4 separate regions of the Homo sapiens genome follow, and all the other regions are linked to region 4. Evidence: promoter capture Hi-C in 16 types of primary human blood cells and fetal thymus (Javierre and others, 2016). All regions are on one chromosome and are shown on one strand. Each heading gives the region's core, a stretch centred on a gene start or on the middle of the fragment in contact. The rest is flanking DNA. Distances are from core to core; before and after follow the strand shown.

Region 1 (3,281 bases), core at 433-2,932, 1.0 Mb before region 4:
TTTTGAGGCTGAGCTGGGCTCTAAATAAGGCTTCTGCATTTTCTGCCACACTCACCACCACTCTTTCAGGCCCCATCCACCTCTGACCTCGGACCTTTGCTCTAACCACTTGGTTGAGGTGGGAACTGAACAGATGGGTGGGACTTGTATGGAAGAGGGGAGGTATGCTGGGCAGGGGAACAGTGAGAACAAAGACATGGAGGCTGGAATGGGTGCCATAACAGAGGTAGAAGGTGGCCCAGGCCTGGGAATGACGGTGGTGGTGGTGGTGGGGAGGGAAGGCCTGCATTCTAGACCCACAGATGATATTGATGCTGCATGACCCTGAGTAGCACCTCATAGTCCTGCCTCTCAGACCCCCAGCTCCCCTTGAAGCTCCACACACATCAAAACTAAACACGCCTCCCAGCTGAGCTCCTCCATGTTTTCTCCTAAAAACCTGCTTTTCTGTCCTGGTGAATCCAGAAACTTAAACTGGTCCTGAACACCTCCCTGCTGGTCACCCCCTACATCCAGTCTGTCGCTCCTTCCAGTGCGATTTGTCCCTTCTCTCCCACCTTATGGCCCCTGCAGGAAGCCAGTCCATCATTGTTGTCTCCTTGGATGACGTCTCGGCTTCCTCCTGGTCTCCCTGCCTTCATTCCTGGGATACACCCTTGCTATACTTAGCTGGAGTGCTTCTTCCAAATTGTGAATTCCAGTATGTCACCACCCAACAGAAAATTGGCTGGACGCTGTGGCTCATGCCTGTAATCCCAGCACTTTGGGAGGCCAAGGCAGGTGGATCACCTGAGGTCAGGAGTTCGAGACCAGCCTGGCCAACATGGTGAAACCCCATCTCTACTAAAAATACAAAAATTAGCCAGGCGTGGTGGTGGGCACCCGTAATCCCAGCTATTCGGGAGGCTGAGGCAGGAGAGTCACTTGAACCCGGGAGGTGGAGGTTGCAGTGAGCTGAGACCATGCCACTGCACTCCAGTGTGGGTGACAAAAGCAAAACTCCTTCAAAAAATAAAAAAAAAAGGCATCCATCCATTGGTTCCTCGCTGTCCATGGGCTAAATTTCTAAGTCTTCCTCATGTCCTTTGAGGCCCTTCAAAACCAGACCCTGAAGGGGTGGCCTGCCCCTCCACACCTGTGGGTGTTTCTCATCGGACTGACAAAAGAGAGAGACACAGAAACAAAGTATAGAGAAGGAAAAGTGGGCCCAGGGGACTGGTGCTCCAGAGGACCCGCGAAGGCACGGGTCTCTGAGTTCCCTCAGTATTTATTGATCATTATCTCTACCATCTCTGAGAGGGGGTTGTGGCAGGACAGTAGGGTAATAGTGGGGAGAGGGTCAGCAGGAAAACATGTGAACAAATGTCTCTGTATCATAAATAAGGTTAAGAAAAAGGTGCTGAGCTTTGATGTGCACATACATAAACATCTCAATGCATTAAAGAGCAGTATTGCCACCAGCATGTCTCACCTCCAGCCTTAAGGCGGTTTTCTCCTATCTCAGTAGATGGAACATACAATCGGGTTTTACACCGAGACATTCCATTGCCCAGGGAGGAGCAGGAGACAGATGTCTTCCTCTTATCTCAACTGCAAAGAGGCCTTCCTCTTTTACTAATCCTCCTCAGCACAGACCCTTTACAGGTGTCGGGCTGGGGGACGCTCAGGTCTTTCCCTTCCCACGAGGCCATATTTCAGACTATCACATGGGGAGAACCCTTGGACAATACCTGGCTTTCCTAGGCAGAGGTCACTGTGGCCTTCTGCAGTGTTTTGTGTCCCTGGGTACTTGAGATTAGGGAGTGGTGATGACTTTTAACAAGCATGCTGCCTTCAAGCATTTGTTTAACAAAGTGCATCCTGCATAGCCCTAAATCCATTAAACCTTGAGTCGACACAGCACATGTTTCTGTGAGCACAGGGTTGGGGGTAGGGTTACAGATTAACAGCATCTCAAGGCAGAAGAATTTTTCTTAGTACAGAACAAAATGGAGTCTGTTATGTCTACCTCTTTCTACATAGACACAGTAACAGTCTGATCTCTCTTTCTTTTCCCAACATTTTCCCCTTTTCTTTTAGACAAAAACACCATTGTCATCATGGCTTGTTCTCGATGGTCGCTGTCTCTTCGGAGCTGCTGGGTACACCTGCAGACTGGGGCCTGCCTCTGGGGAAGGATTAATATGAAATTTACAATAGTAGTACTTCCGATGGTCTTAACCCACGTGACAGGGTTAAGATTTGTGAGGCCATCAGCAACTCCCGCGATTACCTCAGTTCCTGGTACCAAATTTAAATGGGCTTTTGATGCTTCGAAAATTTGTTCTTTTAATTTGGAAATGTCTAAAGTGGGATTATCTTCTCTTCCCTGCAGATGGCGTCTAACCATGTCCCAGTGATGCTCAGACTCATTATAAACTCGGGGTGTAATACAAAAATCTGATGTATCCCAGTCACACTGTAACTGGAAACGATGTTCTAGGCTCATGAGCCTATCTCCCATCAGGATTATCCATCCATGTGACTGCCTGAATTAAGGGCGGGAAAGGCACATAGGCCCAGTAGGTATAATTAGCTGCAGCTGCTCCTGCAGGCATGGGGAGACTTACCACAGTTGATACAATCATCAAAGCTGCAAGCAGCATGTTCTCTGGAGTTTGTGTCACCTTTGTGTTCTCTAGGCTTTTTTTTTTTTAGTTAACTGTGTCAGCTTCTTTAATTGTGCCCAAGTCGGCGCCTCCACCTTCTTGGTGGATGGCAACTTCATCTGTTCTTCTGACATCACCATTCTGTTCATCTTGTGAGTTGATGGTGCTTGATTGCAGTGTCTCCGTCTCCGTGGAGGCGCTTTTCTTTGCATCTCCAATGGGTTCATTGTAGAACTTCAAATGTCTAGTGGGTATCCAAACAGGAAGCTGATTTTCTCCTGGTGAAACACAAGCAAAACCTCTCCCTTACGTTACCACCTTCCCTATTTCCCATGTCTTATTTTTGTTGTCTTTCCACCAAATCAGTTTTCCTTCATATGGGCTCTTCTTTTTAGTAAGATGTTGTTCTGCAGAAGTAGTAGTCTGATTTCTATAAATGTTTAAAAAATTTAAAGTATAGAGGGCTAGATTAAGTTGCATCTGAGGAGTGGTACACTCCTTACTGTCTTCCCCTTCTTTCTGTTTAACTAATTGAGTTTTGAGTGTTCTATTAGTTCTTTCAACTATGGCCTGTCCTTGGGAATTATAGGGAATTTCTGTTGTATTTAGGTTGCAGTGAGCTGAGACTGTGCC
Region 2 (3,522 bases), core at 27-2,526, 1.1 Mb before region 4:
CTGGGAACTATTGGTCTACACCATGCAGCTGTTATGTAAGTAGAAATTAAGGTAATGAGGCCGGGTGCAAGGGCTCACGCCTGTAATCCCAGGATTTTGGGAGGCCAAGGCGAGTGGATCACCTGAGGTCAGGAGTTCAAGACCCGCCTGGCCAACATGGTGAAACCCAGTATCTACCAAAAATACAAAAATTACCTGGGCATGGGCGCACCTGTAATCTCAGCTACTTGGGAGGCTGAAGCAGGAGAATCGCTTGAACCCAGGAGGCAGAGGTTACAGTGAGCCAAGATTGTGCCACTGCACACCAGCCTGGGTGACACAGCGAGACTCTCAGAAAAAAAAAAAGAAAATAAATCTGGATAATGAATTGGGGAAAAAAACCCCCAACCGGTATTATATAAGGTACATAGGTTTTGAAGGTAGAGAAACCTAGGTTGGAATCCCCACTCCACCCCTAATTATGAAAACCTAGAAAAGTTAATGTCTCTGAACCTGTTTCCACATTTATTAAACTACAGGAGAAACAAAGCTACCAGAATCACACTCCACTAAAGGTACTCTCCTTTGATTTCAACATGCCCTGATAATGTATTAGTGCACTATGTCTTACCTATCCCTTATTTTCAGACCTGAGTTAAAGGGGGTGGAACGCTCTCTCTTTACGACCTCACTCAGCATCCCGTCCAGGGCTGTGCATTGTGGCACTGAGCGTGGCAAGCCAGACTAGGCCAGTGACGAGGGGGCCTGGGAGCTAGGTCCCTGGGCATGGCCTAACGACCAGCCACCCGGCTGCAGCCTGATGAATCTGCGATCAAGCAAAGGTATGGGGCTGCTGCTGCGACTGCAAAGAGCAGTCACCGGACCTCGAGTCAGGCCCGGGTTCTAGAACAGGCTTTGCCACCTCCTAGGAGGGCGATCACTTAGCAAACCACTTAGCTTCTCCAAGCTAGCTAAGCTACCGGTAAAACGGGATGAGCACCGCTTACTCAGAGCAGCGGGAGCGGGTCTGGGGAAAGGAGCTATACTCGGTAAATGGGGAAGAAAACGCTTCCTGGGCTCCGGCACCTCCTTCCGGAGGTCCTGGCATCCCCCGCATTCCGCCCCGGGGCTCCCTGCACCGCCGACCCGGACCCACCACGCGACATTCCTTCCGCTTTCCCCGTCTGGGTCGCCGCCGAAGCTAGCGGGCGCCTGGACTGGCTGCCTCCCGCCGGCTGCAGCAGGACGGAGAAACCATGCCGGCGACCGGGCCGCTCTGTCCTCCGGGCGCAGAGTGCGTCAGTGCTCTGCAAGTCACCGCGTCACGGAGAAACTACAATCCCCAGAATGCTTCGCGGCGCGGGGCTCGTGCTCCGCAAATCCCGGCCTGCGTCATTGGAGTCTCTTTCACTAGAGTCGTTCATTCATTCCGCACGCATTCATTGAACCGGCGACCTGGGCCAGGCTCCTTCCCAGGCTCCGGCATGGAGCAGTGACCAAGATCAAGTGGCTCCCTGAGCTGATGGCGCTGCAGGGGAGAGAGTCTTAAGAAAACAAAGAAGAAAAATAGGGAAAAATTTCTTCAGAAGATTAAAGGTGTGATGTGATGGTGACAAGGTGGTCTTTTATTGGATTGTCAGGGGTGCCCTGAGAAGGTGACATTTGAGTTGAGATTAGTGACATGAAGCCAAGCTTGTGAAAACTATGGGAGGAGCATTGCAATTAGCGGGAACAGTTTGTTAAGTAAAATTTATAGGAGGCAGGGCCGGGTGCAGAGGCCCACACCTGTAATCCCAGCACTTTGGAGGACAAGGCGGAAGGATCACTGGAGCCCAGGAGTTCGAGACCAGTCTGGGCAACAATGGGGAGACCCTGTCTCTACAAAAAATAGAAAAAATTAGCCCACCGTGGTGGCGTACACCTCTGGTCCCACCTACTTGGGAGGCTGAGGCAGGAGAATTGCTTGAATCCAGGAAGTGGAGGCTGCAGTGAGCTCAGAAAGTAACACTTCATTCCAGCCTGGGCAACAGAGCAAGACTCCGTCTCAAAAAAAAAAAAAAATTGGAGGCCATTGGTTTGAACAGGGCTCCTGCACCAAGCCCAACAGAACCAAAATGGAGTCACTCATGCTAAAGTTCTACATCACCAAGTGGAAACTAAGTTGTTTATCTGATATTCCGATAAATCAGAAGAGTGAGAGATAGCTAGATCTCCAAACCATCCTGTTTTAGCTGGCAGGATAAGGAAGTCCCCTCTGCTTTAGCCTTCAAAGTTACAAGGAAAGTAACTTTGAAACAACCAATCTTTTTGTTTTCTGTTTCTGCTTTCCTCAGCCCTTTTCTGGCTGTAAAACCAATCTCCTCTGCTCAGCTCATTTGAACACTCATTCCATTTTATAGAATGAAGTGTTGCCCGATTCTAGAGTTGCAAATAAAAGTCAGATTTAACAAATTTGGCAAAAAAAAGTCAAATCACCAATTAAAAGTTAAATTTTTTCTTTTCACAGTTCATGCAAAGAACCTGGGGGAAATGACCTTGACAATTTAGGAACACAGGAAAGGCCAGGGAAGCTGGGGAGAGTGGTATAACAAGAGGCCAGAGAGGAAGCAGGAACCAGAGCATATAGGGCTTTGTGAGCCAAGGTAAGGAGTTTAGATTTCATGGTTAGGAGTGCAGCCTCCGGATACAGTGCCTAGGTTCAAATCTACTCCTGGCTAATTGTGACTTTGGGCAAGTTAGTATCTTCTCTGTGCCTCAGTCTTCTCATCTAGTACTAGAAGTGCTATGACAGGCTATTGAAAGGGAGCGAAGTGATTTGATTTACTTGTAGAGACAGGTTCTCACCCTGTCATCCAGGCTGGAGTGCAGTGGTGTGATCATAGCTCACTGCAGCCTCAACTACCTGGGCTCAAGTGATCCTCCTACCCAAGCCTCAAGAATAGCTGGGACTACAGGCACACGCCACTGTGCCCCACCTGATTTACATTTTTTAAAAGTCACTCTGTATAGCCTTGGAAAAATTACTTTCTTCCTCAGCCTCAATTTGCTTGTTATGAAAACAAAAAATTAGGCCTTTCTCAGAGAACTGTAAGATTTAAGTGACCTTCATTAATGTGTGAAAGCATCTGGCACAGAGAAGAAGCTCAGTAAATTAGGCTTCTTGGCTGGGGGTGGTGGCTCACACCTGTAATCCCAACACTTTGGGAGGCCAAGGCAAGAGGACTGTTTAAGCTCAGGAGTTTGAGACCAGCCTGGGCAACATAGTGAGACCCCATCTCTAAATTTTTTTTTGTTTTTGAGATGGAGTTTCACTCTTGTTGCCCAGGCTGGAGTGCAATGGCCTGATCTCGGCTTACAACCTCCGCCTCCCGGGTTGAAGCAATTCTCCTGCCTCAGCCTCCCAAGTAGCTGGGATTACAGGTGTGCACCACCACACCCGGCTAATTTTTGTATTTTTAGTAGTGACGGGGTTTCTCCATGTCGGTCAGGCTGGTGTCGAACTCCCTACCTCAGGTGATCTGCCCACCTCGGCCTCCCAAAGTG
Region 3 (3,395 bases), core at 164-2,663, 1.3 Mb after region 4:
GGGTTTGGCTGATGGAGGAAGTCAACCTTGCCTCTATTTAACCCTCACTAAACAGTGTAGGCCAGCGTGGTGACTCACACCTGTAATCCCAGCACTTTGGGAGGCCAAGGCGGATGATCACTTGAGGTCAGCAGTTCGAGATGACCCTGGCCAACATGGTGAAACCCCGTCTCTACTAAAAATACAATAATTAGCCGGGCGTGGTGGCGCGCGCCTGTAATCCCAGCTATTCGGGAGGCTGAGGCGGGAGAATTACTTGAACCAGGGAGGTGGAGGTTGCAGTGAGCCGAGATTGCACCACTGCATTCTCCAGCCTGGGCGACAGAGCGAGAGACTCCGTCTCAAAAACATAAACAAACAAACGTGTACAGCCCTCCATTTGTTCATGAAGGCCCAAAAGTGAAAACAAACAGACTAGGTCTGCAAAATATTCTCAAAGTCTCAGATTTTTAAAAACACACCCCTACAGGGGGAACAGCACCAGTAATTACATTCACCAGGCCACAACTACTGAAATGGGTGCAATCTCACTACCCAATTCCCAGTAATGCTACAGCGAAGTCTCCTTCACATCAGTAGCGAGAATTACAACGCCCAGTGTCTTAGTCACAACTCTTCCTGACGCTGCTCCCTGGGGCTCTGCTGGGAATCCCGAAACACTCAGGTCACCTGAAGTGAGAACAAATCAAAACGGGCCAGGGGAGGGAGTCCACGAAGTTCTCCAAGTGAGAACTGGAGAGTACGTCTCAGTTTCGTAAATGACACAGGAGCTGGGTCCCAGGGGGCGGAGGTCTTGGGCGGTGCCACCGGGCACCTGCCTCCCGGCAACCAGTTTCGCCTTCAGCGCTCCACTTGGCTTCAGCTGACTTGGGCGTGGACACAGAGGTCGGGGTCCCCGCGCGGGCCGCGCCTGTGCGCTCGCAAGAGTGGAAGAGAAAGTGCGGAGGGACGGAGCGCAGGCGGGCCCCGGCCGCCGCCCTCCCGGGCGTCCCCGCTACCGGCCACCTGAGAACCGGGGAGGGGGCGGGGGACTGGGCGCAGCCCTGCTCACCTTCTGGATGGAGGACTTGCCGCTGCGCCGGAGTCCCATGAGCAGAATCCTCGGCTTGGAGCTGTCAGCGCCCCCCGGACCACAGCCACCGCCTGCCCCTGCCCCAACCCCTCCGCCCGCCGCCGCCGCCTCCTCTTCCTCCTCCTCCACGCCGTAGCCGAAGTCCTTTGGAAACGAATCGGCCGCGCCGTAACTGCCGGCGAGGGGCGTCTCCTCCGCCCCGTACTGCAGGGACATGGTGCTGGAGCCGCCGCCGCCCGCGCCCTGACAGGCCAGGCCAGGCCGAGCCAGGCCGCCGCCTCCCCAGTCCGCCTCCGCCGCCGCCGCCACCACCGCCACCGCCCCCGGCAGCCGCCACAGTCCGGCCCGCCCCCCGGAGCCCGGCTCTCATAGGCCCCGAGCCGAAGCCCAGCCGCTTATTGGCCGCCCGAGCTGCTACTCGAGAGCAGCAGGGTAGGTGGTGCCCCGTCACGTGCCGGAATCACCTGACTCAGAGCCGCGGAGGGGGGAGGAGGAGTCACGAGGAGGGCGGCCCGGCCGCGCCTCTAGCCCCGGCTCGGGCCCTCAGCCCTCCGCCCCGGCCCGCATACAACGCTGTCTGCACCGCTCCCCTGCCTTCTTCCGGGCTCCCAGAGCACCGCTATGGAGATGCTCTCCCGGCATTTGAGGAAGAATTGATTGTCCTCATCCTGCAACTGTACTTGCCCAACCGATATTTATTGATGCCTGCAGTGTCCTGGGTGCCTACCAAGGGGCACAGAACTGGATCCGACGCAGACCCTGCCTGCCTTCAGGTTGCTTGAAGATGAACAGAGAGATCGGACCTCTGCGTAAGTAACCTCGCTACGAAATATTATGTGGGAAGGTCACGGATAAATAATGCTCGGGAGTTGAATGAGAAAGCGTCTGAGCAGATCTAGGTGGATGGATAGATTGGGATGTGCAAAGGTATGGGGGAGCCAGCCACACTGAGGGCAAACCTCAACCAAGGCAGAGTCATGGGTCACCGTGATAGTTTGTTCTAGCAGGTAGCTGGACCCTGATGGGAAAGCAGATGCAGCCAAGCTAGAACATCTTATCTTCTTTCTTCAGTAAGTCGCCGATAGTGGATACTGCTGCCACTTCAAACCCAACGGGACTCAATTTGCCCTCCTTCCCGCCTTGTCAAAGTCTACTCTAGGAATTCCATCCCCCATAGAACACTGCCTCTTCTATGACCTCGTTCAGATTAGAGACCAAAGTATTGAATAATGAAAGCAAACAAAAGCAAATGCTTGTCACCAAATATGTCCGAGAAATCTAGAGGAATTTTTATTTTTGATAATCAGGCTCTAGAACTGGAAGTTTGAGAAGAGGATCCTCTTAAAGCACAGCCCTATACACTTTTTAAAGTACAGGAGTGGGGGTGCTCCCAGCCCTCCAAGGAGACTGACTTCTTGATTATGAAGGAAAAATTCGCACATGCGGGCAGGTCTGGGACTTTGGTTTTGTCTGAACCCAGAAGTTAGAGGTAGGATACACCCTTAGAGGTCATCTAGCCCAACCTCTCACCTAAAACGAACCAACTCTATAGTGTCTAATAGACATGCAGAATGCACTTAAATAGTTCGAAGGTAAAAGAGCTCACCATCTCGAAAGGCAGCCAACTCCACTGTGGTAAACCTTTGTTTAAAAATTGTTAAAGCCGGCCGCGCGGTGGCTCACGCTTGTAATCCCAGCACTTTGGGAGGCAGAGGCGGGCGGATCATGAGGTCAGGAGATCGAGACCATCCTGGCTAACATGGTGAAACCCCATCTCTACTTAAAAAAATACAAAAAATTAGCCGGGCGTGGTGGCGGGCGCCTGTAGTCCCAGCTACTCGGGAGGCTGAGGCAGGAGAATGGCTTGAACCCAGGAGGCGGAGCTTGCAGTGAGCCGAGATCGCGCCACCGCACTCCAGCCTTGGCGACAGAGCGAGACTCCGTCTCAAAAAAAAAAAAAAGTCTTAAAGCCAAACCACACTCCCTGAAGCCTATAATAGAATAAAATAGGAATAGTCTTCACCTTTTTCATGACAGCCCTTCAAATACCAGATTGCAGTATTCATTACCCACTAAGTCTTCTCTGTTCCTTGCTGAACATCCTCAGTTTCAACCATTCCTATCGTGCTGTTCAATACAACTGATATACATGATAGACATGTTCTTTATCTGCACTGTCAAACATGTAGCCGCTAGTCCTATGAGGAATAAGCACTTGAATTGTTGCTAGTGTAACTGAGGAATTTTTTTTTTTTTTTTTTTTTTTTTTTTTGAGATGGAGTCTCGCTCTGTCGCCAGGCTGGAGTGCAGTGGCGCGATCTCA
Region 4 (3,440 bases), core at 320-2,819:
CTCACACAACCCTGTGCCATAGGCCCAACTTTCGCTATTTTACAGATGTGAGCCTTGTCTAAGATTATTCGGTGAGGCAGTGCCTGAGCCAGAGTCCAAGAGTTCAAGTCCAGATCACACCACTACTTTACTACTGCCTCCAGCAAAGTTGCCACTAAGAGCATACAGTCCTAAAAACAAACGTTACTAGGGCACAATAGGAACACTACAGGCTTTCGACACTCACTTTTGGTTGGTCAGATACCGATCCCAGCCACGAATAATATTGCCATACATCTGAGTGTCTTCCAGGTAGCTTCCCTCAAAAGCATAGATCTGTCGCTCCAAATTTGCCAATGTTTCCTGAGAGATGAAAAACAAGGACATGAATGATACCTTTTAAATGCAAACACTTAAGTCTGGCCAAAATGAAATCCTGATATTAGACTCGTAAACGCAAGCTTGCCCACACTAAACCACCCTGTGGAGAGATGGAAGATACGGGGAGGAGGAGCCGTTTAGGACTAAGACAGTCTAGACCTTTGGGGGTGATGGACCCCTGAATGTATAAAGCATGTCTCCAGAAAAATACACACACACGCGAAATTTTGCATATACTTTAGAGGATTCACGGAAACCATGAGTCAAGAGCCCAGGCTAACGCAGAACTTGGGCGATGTCCACTCCCACGCACAAAAGGTATCGCTACCAGGAGAGGGAAAGGTGAGCAGCCTTTCAGCGTCAACTCGCTCCCCTCCCCGCAGGCTCAAGAGAGGCCGCCGACACCGGGCTGCCAGTTGCTATGGAAACCTAGAAGGGCAGCTTCAGGTGAGAGGGGCCTCCCGGGTGCCCAAGCCGAGACGCGGGGGCAGGAAGAGCTTAGCCACCAGAGTGCATTGGGCCTTGGGTGCCTGTCACAATTCTGAATTCTCCGGAATGTGTTCTTCTCCCTCGCCTGTCACCTTCTAGATGTTCCCAAACACATCACAACCCTGTCTATCAAAAACCTCCATTCAACGGATCTACTCCCAGTACCAAAAAGAACACGCTCCCCACCAGCCTCCAAAGTCCAGACGGGGTGACTGGGTCCCCCTCCCACACTAGCCTCCTTCCCCACCCCCTCCCCGCAAAGATCACGGACTAGCCCGCCTCGCCCACCCCCGCGGCTCACTGACGCTCGCCCTTCCTAGCGCCCTCTCCCCGGGCCCCGGCACCGTCCTCCCTCCACGCCCCCTCCTGCGGCTGCCGCTTCCCCTCCCCCTCCCGCGCTCCCGGCTCTCTCCCGGCTCCGGATTCGCACAGCCGGGAAGCTGAACCGCCGGCGGGCCGCAGAATGCGCACCCGGCCTCAGGCCGCCGAGCACCCGGCCCGCCGCGCCGCGCCCCCGGAGTAACAAACGGCCTAGCGCGGCCGGGCTTGGGGCCTGGAGGCGGGGCGGGCGCGGAGCCCCATGCCGTGCAACCCCTGTCCTAGCCCCTCACCGCCAGCTCCTGCTTCCGCTTCACGAGCTCCGCCAGCTCCCGCCGGGTGTCCGGGATCTGCGGCGGCGCCGCCTTGTTGTGCATCGCCATGTTGGGCTGAGGCGGGCGGCGGCGGCGCGAGGTTGGGGGCGGTCCCTGCGCCGCCAGGGGGCGCCCCCCCGCTCTGCGCCTGCGCGCGCGGCTTCCGGAGACGCGTGCAGCGCCGTGCCGAGCTTCGCTAAGGCCGGGGCTCTCGAAGGTCCTTCTCGGAGAGCTCTAGAGATGCGGCTTCTGCTTTCTGCCGTTTCCTGCCCCTCGGCTGGCCGCCGGCTTTACAGACGCCACAAATCCACCGCGTCCAAAGCCTAGCTCGTCCTCAGGCCTCCGAGTCTCCTGTGCGCCCCGCTTCAGTCCACTTCAGTGAATGACTTTCACTATCCACCGAATTGCCTGCGTCAGAAACGCGGTTTTCCTCACTCTGCACCTGGAGTAAAACGCGATCCCAGGTCAAGCTCTATGGACTCGACTCCGGAAGAGCTCGCGAATCCATTTGCTTGTGCCTGCGCCTTCTGCCACCTCACTAGTTCATTCAGGCCCTCCCTGTTTGGGGCTACATTATTCCAGCGGCTTATTTCCACCTTTAGCCCCACTTAATCCACTATCCACAGTGGTGCCAGGATCTTCCAGAAACAAATGTTATCACTCCCCGGTTTAAAGTCTTTCAGTGGCTTCCCATTTTCCCAGTGCCCTTTGGAGAAACAAGTATGTGTAGTGGTTAAGGGCACAAAACTGGAGCGAGAACTACCTTGTTCAAAATCCTATCGCTACATCGATAAAGTGTGCTCCTTTGGGCAAATAACCAAATCTCAACTCCCTCATCTGTAAAATACAAGCAGTAATAGAATCTACCTAATACATTTGCTGTGAGGAGTAAATCACCTAATATGTGTAAGGGGTTTGGCAGGCGCCAATGACTGTGCAAGTACGAGTTCGCTTTTATCGTTAAGTCCAAGGTGTAAACGTTGTTTTCACTTGGCCCCTGTGGATTTCTCCGTCCTCAGCTCTCCATCTTTCACTGTTCTGCAGTTTCGCTATCATAAGTCTAAGTGGGATATTTTTTCTTCCTTTTGTTTTGTTTCTTGCTTGGAAGTCTTTGGATTTCTATAATATGTGGGTTGGTATCTTCCACCAGTTTTGGGAAATCGCAGTCATTTTTCTTCAGATGCCTGTCTCATTTCTCTCTCCTTCTGGAACTCGAACATAAGAAGCTTTTTAACCTACCGTCTATATTTTCCATCTTTTTGTCCCTCTGTGCTGCATTCTGAATAACTGGTTTCGTGTGCGGATCTTGTAACCTGCCATCTTGCTGAACTCCCTTACTAATTTTAGGGGGGGTTGTATAGATTCCTTGGAATTTTTACATAGATAATAATTTCATCTGCAAATAAATAGGGAGTTTTTTTTTTTCTAAGCTGAGTGCTTTTTCTTTTTCTTCCTTATTGTGCAGATTTCCAGTAGTCTGTTAAATAAAAGTGATAACATTAGACATCCTTGCCTTGTTCCCTGTTTTAAGGGGAATGCAGGCCGGGCGCGGTGGCTCACGCCTGTAATCCCAGCACTTTGGGAGGCCGAGGCGGGTGAATCACAAGGTCGGGAGATCAAGACCATCCTGGCTAACACAGTGAAACCTCGTCTTTATTAAAAAATACAAAAAAAATTAGCCGGGCGTGGTGGTGGGCGCCTGTAGTCGCAGCTACTCGGAAGGCTGAGGCAGGAGAATGGCGTGAACCCGGGAGGCGGAGCTTGCAGTGAGCCAAGATCCCGCCACTGCACTCCAGCCTGGGCAAGAGCGAGACTCCGTCTCAAAAAAAAAAAGGGGGGGTGGCGAATGCATTCAGTCTCTCACCATTAAGTATGACATTAGTTGTGGGAGTTTTGTAGATGCTGTTTTTCAAGGTGAGGAAGTACCTCTATATTCCTAGTGTAAACCAAAAAACAAAC

Evidence for each region. Contacts are between HindIII fragments. The CHiCAGO score rates a contact against its expected background, and 5 or more counts as called.
Region 1: a contact is called between a fragment that was not itself captured here and the fragment with the promoter of MEAF6 in region 4, in 1 of 17 cell types (M1 macrophages). The highest score is 5.0, in M1 macrophages.
Region 2: the fragment with the promoter of LSM10 here is called in contact with the fragment with the promoter of MEAF6 in region 4 in 4 of 17 cell types (naive CD4 T cells, non-activated CD4 T cells, fetal thymus and 1 more); the score reaches 7.9 in naive CD4 T cells.
Region 3: a contact is called between the fragment with the promoter of RRAGC here and the fragment with the promoter of MEAF6 in region 4, in 4 of 17 cell types (naive CD4 T cells, fetal thymus, total CD8 T cells and 1 more). The highest score is 8.4, in naive CD4 T cells.

Annotation. Positions count from the first base shown.
Region 1 is chr1:36,487,875-36,491,155 of GRCh38, forward strand. No RefSeq gene overlaps it. Among named protein-coding and RNA genes, the nearest start is that of CSF3R, 6.6 kb to the left of the region's middle. The HindIII fragment of the contact is 3,716 bases long and covers 1-3,281 here.
Region 2 is chr1:36,396,632-36,400,153 of GRCh38, forward strand. LSM10 (LSM10, U7 small nuclear RNA associated) reads right to left here and starts at 1,277. Exons shown (of 2, transcript NM_032881.3): 1 at 1,136-1,277. RefSeq lists enhancers at 422-1,134, 1,135-1,846. The HindIII fragment of the contact is 5,014 bases long and covers 1-1,669 here.
Region 3 is chr1:38,858,359-38,861,753 of GRCh38, forward strand. RRAGC (Ras related GTP binding C) reads right to left here and starts at 1,414. Exons shown (of 7, transcript NM_022157.4): 1 at 1,052-1,414. The coding sequence starts at 1,288. RRAGC-DT (RRAGC divergent transcript) reads left to right here and starts at 1,535. Exons shown (of 2, transcript NR_186075.1): 1 at 1,535-1,881. RefSeq lists a silencer at 944-1,703 and an enhancer at 1,339-1,633. The HindIII fragment of the contact is 4,947 bases long and covers 1-3,395 here.
Region 4 is chr1:37,513,197-37,516,636 of GRCh38, forward strand. It overlaps MEAF6 (MYST/Esa1 associated factor 6), which reads right to left and starts at 1,570. Exons shown (of 7, transcript NM_001270875.3): 1 at 1,461-1,570; 2 at 227-342. The coding sequence starts at 1,550. RefSeq lists a silencer at 1,155-1,754. The HindIII fragment of the contact is 2,267 bases long and covers 439-2,705 here.